2 separate regions of the Homo sapiens genome follow, and region 2 is linked to region 1. Evidence: promoter capture Hi-C in human tissues and cell types (Jung and others, 2019). All regions are on one chromosome and are shown on one strand. The core of a region is centred on a gene start or on the middle of the fragment in contact, and the rest is flanking DNA. Distances in the headings are between cores, read along the strand shown. Region 1 holds the start of ACO1 (aconitase 1). Region 2 overlaps RIGI (RNA sensor RIG-I).

Evidence for each region. The method cuts DNA at HindIII sites, captures the fragments that hold promoters and counts their contacts. A contact is called where the count stands out against the background at its distance.
Region 2: a contact is called between a fragment that was not itself captured here and the fragment with the promoter of ACO1 in region 1, in 7 of the 25 tissues and cell types used here (H1 embryonic stem cells, adrenal gland, heart right ventricle and 4 more).

The regions. Positions count from the first base shown.
Region 1 is chr9:32,382,390-32,386,528 of GRCh38, reverse strand. It overlaps ACO1 (aconitase 1), which reads right to left and starts at 1,886. Exons shown (of 21, transcript NM_002197.3): 1 at 1,794-1,886. RefSeq lists a silencer at 1,706-2,085. The HindIII fragment of the contact is 21,386 bases long and covers 1-4,139 here.
Region 2 is chr9:32,507,332-32,511,470 of GRCh38, reverse strand. The region is part of intron 1 of RIGI (RNA sensor RIG-I); the gene reads left to right. Among named protein-coding and RNA genes, the nearest start is that of RIGI, 17 kb to the left of the region's middle. RefSeq lists enhancers at 1,956-2,672, 2,673-3,391. The HindIII fragment of the contact is 4,098 bases long and covers 259-4,139 here.

The DNA of each region.
Region 1 (4,139 bases), core at 637-3,136:
CTCCCAAATATATACACATAACATCTGTCTTGAACTTGTTCTGACAAGGCACGAAGCTAAGGAAAGAGTCCCGTGAAGGACCTCACCTACCACACTCCAGGATGGTGGAAACTGCTTTTTGACAGGGGCTGAGGAAGCACCACTCAGAGTGACACCCTCTGAAAGTGGAAAGTGAAAGAACGTCAAGACTGGAAATCATTATTCCAATAAACTCAAGGCTAATAACCATGCAACTGCAAACAGAAATGAACACGTGCAAGGGAAGGCAAAAGCATGCCTCCTTGTTCTTTTGGAAATAACTTCCTGACTACTTGGTAACTCTCACAGGAACCCCTACACACTTGGCATGGTCTCCCCACTGGCACTTTTGTGAGCCTACAGGTCCTGTTTGCCACATCACTGTTGTAATCCTGATGCACAGACAGGTCAGCTCTGCAAGCACAGAGACAACCAAAGGCATGTGCGAAGCCTTGCTGACTTTTCAGGAGGCTGGCAAGGTTCATCACAGCCTCACGTGGGGACCTAGTACATGGTTTCCAAAGTGAGATCAAACTTGGTTCCAGATACCAGAGGTTAATACTGTCCATGGCATGAGGTGGTGTGTGTTCCCAATCAGAGGAAGGATCACAAACAAGAAGCAGGCCCAATGAATGAAGCCTCTGAAGCATTTCCTACACCAGCATCCTCAAAGTGTGGTGCAGAGAACTCCTAGGGATCTCCAAAGTCAAAACCATTTTCCTAGTAATAAAATGTTACTTGCTTTTTTTCATTCACACATTTTCAGGAGTATACAGTGGAGGTCTCAAGAGGCTACATGATATGTGATATTGCAACAGACTGCAGAAGCAGCTATCAGAATCCAGCTGTCTTCAATTACGCTTGACATCAAAGAGATTTGCAAAAATGTAAAACAATGCCACTCTTCTCAATCATTTTCTGTTTTGGGAAATATAGTTCTTTTTCATAAAAATAGGCAATGTTAAGATATAATTAGTTCACTATTCTTTTTAAATGAATTATTATAGTACAAATTTCTCAGTCTTACTTACATATTATAAATATGGATAGATATAACACACATAAAAGCTCCTTAAGATACTAATTTTTAAGAGTGTAAAGGAGTACTGAGTACCAGAAAAGTTTGGGGACTTCTGTCCTAGAGGTTGTCCCCCAGGGAAGAGAGTTACATGTGTTGCAAGAAGGAAGATGCCATTATGATGTGCTAGCTGAATCTAGAAAAAAATGACTTGGTCATAACTGCAGCCCAAGCTCCTTTCTAGATCTCTGAATCTATCATGGTGGGCTCTGTGTTCAAGCCTCCCACGAAGGGTCTCTTCCCCCTCATCCCATTTTCCCTTTACCCCTTGGAGTGGATTCCCGGATCTGCCCGCACAACTTTAGCAAGGGTTTCCCTATCCAGCCAGCCGGGCCTGGGCGAGGACTCCCAGTGCGGGCCTCACACCCTCGGGGTTAGGACTCCCAGGACTGGCCGCACACCCTAGGCAAGGACTTTCAGGACAGCACGCACAGCCAAGGCTAAGAAGGGTCTAGGAAAGCCACTTCCAATCCCTGGTTTCTCTCCCCGGCATGACATAGACTGGGGACAGGGTGGAGACGTCAGTCGCCAGAAACACGTCCCCGATTCTCCTCTCAGCCTCCCCAAGCTCGCCTCCGTGTCCCCCGTGCCGCCACTGCCTCGGGCACCTCGGTAAAGGCCCGCACCGACTCTCGAGGGATACAGGGTGGACGGCGCTCCCGCCTGGGGACGTGGGTCGGGCCGCGTCGGTACTCACCTCCGACTGCACGGCGGGGCTCCCGCGACCGGCGAACCTGACCCAAGCAGCGGGACGCGTTCCCGTGCGCTGCGCGGTTCCAGCTGCCGCCTCCACGCTCCGCCCCCTCTCGCCCCCGGGGCCGCCGCGCGATGGGCGGAGCAGGGGCGGGAAGGGCGGAGCAGGGGCGGGACGGACGGGCAGCTAGCCGAAGAAGGGGCGGAGCCTGCGGGCGCCCCCGCGGGCCTGGAGGACTTCGCCCCGGGCTGGAGGCTAGGGTTGCGAAGGGCTCCTCCGCTGGAAGTGGGAGGGCTGATCCCTCGGCCCGGGTCCGCTTCTGCCAGCATGGGACCTGGGACGAGGGTGTCTGTTGCTCACTTTGGAGCTTAGCATGTGACTCCCCAGCCGGCGTTAGGAAGTGACCAAAGGGTGGGGAAGAAATGGAATTATTTTTAAAAAATGATTTGGCCATAACTGGAGAGGCTTCATGTACGTGTGGTCACTTGGCCCGCCTCCCTTCTCACTTTGTCCGTCCCCACCCTACCCACCCTCTCCACCCTCGCCTTAATTCTTTGCGCAAAGCCTGCCAAGTGGACATCGGAGTCACGCTGTCAGAATAGGACTTCAGCATTTCCGTGGCAAAAGTTCTATATGTAGATTTCCTTGGACATGTAACAACACTTTCTAATGCACGATGTTCACCGGTCTGAAGTCGGAGAAATGGCTGGGAGATGGCAGCAAGTGGGCTTTCACAAGATCTGCTTTTCATGTTGGTAGGAGTTGTGCCCTCTTGGGTGAATGGCGTTCAAAGAAGTGATTAGATCTTTCTAGATGAAAGGTGGTGAGGTTTTCCTGCCCAAATTATTTGGAAAGTTACTGTAGTTTTCTGAATAAGCAGCTTATAGGATGAGTAAACAATAGCCAGTACTAATAGCCCCCCTGCTACTTTATACTGCCCTCCTATTCTGCACAAAGCCCTGTGATCGACTCTTTCCACGTTATTCAGTTCAGCTCTTCCAACCACCTTACAAGTAAAGAATATTACCCGTCTTTGCAGGTGTGCAATGCGCAACAGCTGAGACTCAGTCCTTAGGTTGGTTTGACACCAAAGCCTACACCTTCCCTGTCATACTGCACTATAGGGTACAACTATCGTCTAGTTATATTTAACTTTGAAATATAAATACTTATATTTATTTTGAAAGGGGAAGTAACTGTATTTCCAATATGAGAGGAGACTGTTTTCCCACCCACTTCCTAAATCCTTTCCATTCACATTAGTAATTAAATTTTCTTTGAATGTCCACCATATGGCAGAGGTGCACCACAATCCCTGAAAAATCATGCTCCAGTCCCCTTGGGAGGTAGGGAGAGTAGGGGCAAGGTGAGAGTGAGTAGAAGGCTGGGGAAGTCCGATGAGGACACATCCAGCTAAATTGCGATTCTTAATGAGGCAGCCATTCGGAAAGCAAAGTATCTAATGTTCAATGATAACATCCGTGTAACTGAGAATCCTTCGCAGAAAACAATCAAATCAGAGCTATGAAGGGAATTGAGATTTATTAGTAAGCACGCTGGTCAAAACCGTGAAGGAAATAGTTCCACATCCCCCCAGTCTGTTGCTCTTGGACGTTGTCACCAGTGACGTGCAGATCGTGAATCCCAGGGCCTGTCCTCTGTTCCTGTCCTTACTCACTACTCTGTGGTATTTGACACTGGCGATTCGTTTTCCTAGAAATGTTAACCTCCTTTTGGCTTTTCAGCCCTCCGCTCTTAGGAGTCACCTCTTCCCTCTTTTGTCCCTCTTTTTTAAGGTCTTTCCCTACACTCTCTCCTCTTGCTTTATATGTTTCTCCATTTGCTGAGTTTTTCTTCATCTATTTTCTCAGTATGCAGACTGCCTGCCACTTCTAGCTGAAGCCTGCTATGTCTCTGTCATTGGTCTTAGTTAACTTTCTGACCTTCACACTCTTGATTTGCAGCCATATGTGGCAACCCCACCTGGATATTCCAAAGGTGTCTGTATTAGACCGTTCTCACGCTGCTGTAAAGAACCCTGAGACTGGGTAATTCATAGGGAAGGAGGTTTAATTGGCTCACAGTTCTGCATGCTGGGGAGGCTTCAGGAAGCTTACAATTATGGCAGAAGGGGAAGCAGGTATGTCTTACCTGGCAGCAGGCAAGAGAGTGTCCTCTGAATGCACAGTGGTCCTCCTGAATGCTTTGAGGGGACCTTAGAATCCCTAAATTTTTCACTGAATATATGTCTTCATACCAGAGAAAATTTGAAATAAACGTTTTGTTCCTCTTTAAGAAAAAAAGAGTTAAATTCATAACAAGGAGAGGCAGGTCTTAGCCTCATCTTGG
Region 2 (4,139 bases), core at 1,058-3,557, 120 kb before region 1:
AGCAGGTTGTTCAGTTTCCATGTAGTTGTGCAGTTTTGAGTGAGTTTCTTAATCCTCAGTTCTAATTTGATTGCACTGTGTTCTGACAGACTGTTATGATTTCCGTTCTTTTGCATTTGCTGAGGAGTGTTTTATTTCCTATTATGTGGTCAATTTTAGAATAAGTATGATGTGGTGCTGAGAAGAATGTATATTCTATTCATCTGGGGTGGAGAGTTCTGTAGATGTCTACTAGGTCAGCTTTGTCCAGAGCTGAGTTCAAGTCCTGAATATTCTTGTTAATTTTCTGTTTTGTTGATCTATTATTGACAGTGGGGTGTTAAAGTCTCCCACTATTATTGTGTGGGAGTCTAAGTCTCTTTGTAGGTCTGTAAGAACTTGCTTTATGAATCTGGGTATTCCTGTATTGGGTGCATATGTATTTAGCATAGTTAGCTCTTCTTGTTGCATTGATCCCTTTACTATTATATAATGCCCTTCTTTCTCTTTTTTGATCTTTGTTGGTTTAAAATCTGTTTTATCAGAGACTGGGATTGCAACCCCTGCTTTTTTTTTTTCTTTCCATTTGCTTGGTAAATCTTCCTCCATCCCTGTATTTTGAGCCTATGTGTGTCTTTACATGTGAGATGGGTCTCCTGAATACAGCACACCAATGGGTCTTGACTCTTTATCCAATTTGCCAGTCTGTGTCTTTTAATTGGGGCATTTAGCCCATTCACACTTAAGGTTAATATTGTTATGTGTGAATTTGATCCTGTCATTATGATGCTAGCTGGTTATTTTGCCTGTTAGTTGATGCAGTTTCTTCATAGTGTCGATGGTCTTTACAATTTGGTATGTTTTTGCAGTGGCTGGTACCAGTTTTCCTTTCCATATTTAGTGCTTCCTTCAGGAGCTCTTGTAAGGCAGGCCTGGTGGTGACAAAATCTCTCAGCATTTGCTTGTCTGTAAAGGATTTTATTTCTTCTTTGCTTATAAATCTTAGTTTGGCTGTATATGAAATTCTGGGTTGAAAATTCTTGTCTTTAAGAATGTTGAATATTGGCCCCCACTCTCTTCTGGCTTGTAGGGTTTCTACAGAGAGATCTGCTGTTAGTCTGATGGGCTTCCCTTTGTGAGTAACTCAACCTTTCTCTCTGGCTGCACCTAACATTTTTCCTCCATTTCAACCTTGGTGAATCTGATGATTATGTGTCTTGGGGTTGTTCTTCTCGAGGAGTATCTTTGTGGTGTTCTCTGTATTTCCTGAATTTGAATGTTGGCCTGTATTGCTAGGTTGGGGACGTTCTCCTGGATAACATCCTGACGAGAGTTTTCCAACTTGGTTCCATTCTCCCCGTCACTTTCGGGTACACCAATCAAACATAGGTTTGGTCTTTTCACATAGTCCCATATTTCTTGGAAGCTTTGTTCATTCCTTTTCATTCTTTTTTTCTCTAATCTTGTCTTCATGCTTTATTTCATTAAATTCATCTTCAATCTCTGATATCCTTTCTTCTGCTTGATTGATTCAGCTATTGATAGTTGTGTATGCTTCACAAAGTTCTCGTGCTGTGTTTTTTGGCTACATCAGGTCATTCAGGTCCTTCTCTAAACTGGTTATTCTAGTTGTCACTCCTCTAACCTTTTTTCAAGGTTTGTAGCTTCCTTGCATTGGGTTAGAACATGCTCCTTTAGCTCAGAGGAGTTTCTTATTACCCACCTTCTGAAGCCTACTTCTGTCAATTTGTCAAACTCATTCTCCGTCCAGTTTTGTTCCGTTGCTGGCAAGGAGTTGTGATCCTTTGGAGGAGAAGAGGATCACATTTTTTTTCTGCCTTTTTGCACTGGCGTTTCCTCATCTTCATGGATTTATCTGCCCTTGGTCTTTCATGTTGGTGACCTTCAGATGAGTTATCTGTGTGGATGTCCTTTTCGTTGATATTGATGATATTCCTGTTTGTTAGTTTTCCTTCTAACAGGCCCCTCAGCTGCAGGTCTGCTGGAGTTTGCTGGATGTCCACTCCAGACCCTGTTTGCCTGGGTATCACCAGTGGAGGCTGCAGAACAGCAAAGATTGCTGCCTGTTCCTTCCTTTGGAAGCTTCCTCCCAGAGGGGCACCTGCCAGATGCCAGCTGGAGCTCTCCTGTATGAGGTGTCTGTTGACCCTGGTAGGAGGTGTCTCCCCACCAGGAGGCACAGGTATCAGGGACCCACTTAAGGAGGCAGTCTGTCCGTTAGCAGAGCTCAAGCACTGTGCTGGGAGATCTGTTGCTCTCTTCAGAGCCAGCAGGCAGCAACATTTAAGTCTGCTGAAGCTGTGCCCACAGCTGCCCTTTTCCCCAGGTGCCCTCTCCCAGGGAAATGGGAGTTTTATCTGTAAGCCCCTGAGTGGGGCTGCTGGCTTTTTTTCAGAGATGCCCTGCCTAGAGTGAGGAATCTAGAGAGGCAGTCTAGCTATAGTGGCTTTGCCAAGCTGCAGTAGGGTCTACCCAGTTTGAACTTCCTGGTGGCTTTGTTTACACTGTGAGGGGAATAGGGCCTACTCAAGCCTCAGTAATTGTGGATGCCCCTCCCCCAACCAAGCTTGAGCATCCCAGGTCAACTTCAGATTGTTGTGCTGGCAGCGAGAATTTCAAGCTAGTGGATTTTAGCTTGCTGGGCTCTGTAGGGGTGGGATTTGCTGTGCTAGACCACTTGGCTCCCTGGCTTCAGCCCCCTTTCCAGGAGAGTGAATGGTTCTGTCTTGCTGGCATTCCAGGTGTCACTGAGGTATGAAAAAAAAAACTGCAGCTAGCTCAGTGTCTGCCCAAATGGCCACCCAGATTTGTGCTTGAAACCCAGATCCCTGGTGGCATAGGCACCGGAGGGAATCTCCTGGTCTGCTGGTTGCGAAGACTTGGGGGGAAAAGCATAGTATCTGGGCCAGGGTGCACTGTTCCTCATGGCACAGTCCCTCATGGCTTCCCTTGGCTAGGGGAGGGAGTTCCCAGACCCCTTGTGCTTCCCAGGTGAGGTGACACCCTACCCTGCTTCAGCTCGCTGTCTGTGGGCTGCACCCACTGTCTATCCAGTCCCAGTGAGGTGAACCGGGTACCTCTGTTGGAAATGCAGAAATCACCCGCCTTCTGTGTTGATCTCTCTGTGAGCTGCAGACCGGAGCTGTTCCTTTTTTGGCCATCTTGCCCTGGTTCCTAGTCAAGCATTTTTTAAGAGAGGATTTTCATATAGTAAAAAAAAAAAAAAAAAAATTAAGTAAATACTTTGGTTTAAAATTTTAGATTGAGTCTGTTAGGAGCTAGGGAAAATTATGATAAATAAGAGTTAAATCCCTTGCCTCAAAAGGGGGAGACTTAAAATATTACCATTTTCCACTTGCTTCTGTAGTTTTAAAAAGCTATATGAATGGTTACAGATAATGATACCATTTAAATGAGGTTTTATATGTTTTGTTGTTCTTGAGAGGAGAAAAGAAACTAGTAATTTAAGCTAACCAGAAAATATAGGAAAGGGAAATATAAACAAGATAACACAAGGAAAACTAGTTATATCAGCTATGGCCATGTAATTAGGTCAAACATCTTTTAAATAGGTGTGAATGAGTCAGAAAGCAGAATCCAGGTTTTGGTCATCTGCCAGAGACCCATGTAAAGTCTAATAACATAAAAAATAAAAATGGGGGCCAGACTTGGCAGCTCATGCCTGTAATTCCAGCACTTTGGGAACCTGAGGTGGGAGGATTGCTTGAGCCCCGAAAATTGAGCCTATGGTGAGCTATGATCATGCTACTGTACTTCTGCTTGGGCAATGGAACAAGACCCTGTCTCATAAATAATAAATAAATAAAAAAGAGATAAAGAAGGGACAAATATATATTAAATAAATGCATACGTAAAGAAAGCAAGAATTATACTTAAATTGCACTAGTGGAAAGTATTAAGATAAAATGATAAAGGTATTGAGATATCAGTGAAGATTTGGTACACATAAATCTTTGTTTATTAAATATTAGAAAACGTCAAGAAATATGGGAATTATAAGATATCTTTATTAGTACTGCTAAGTCAGATAAATGATAATAAAAGCATAAATGATCTGTTTAATAAGGTTGATTTAATGTCTATGTTTTCCATTTTGTATCATATAGCAAATATATCCT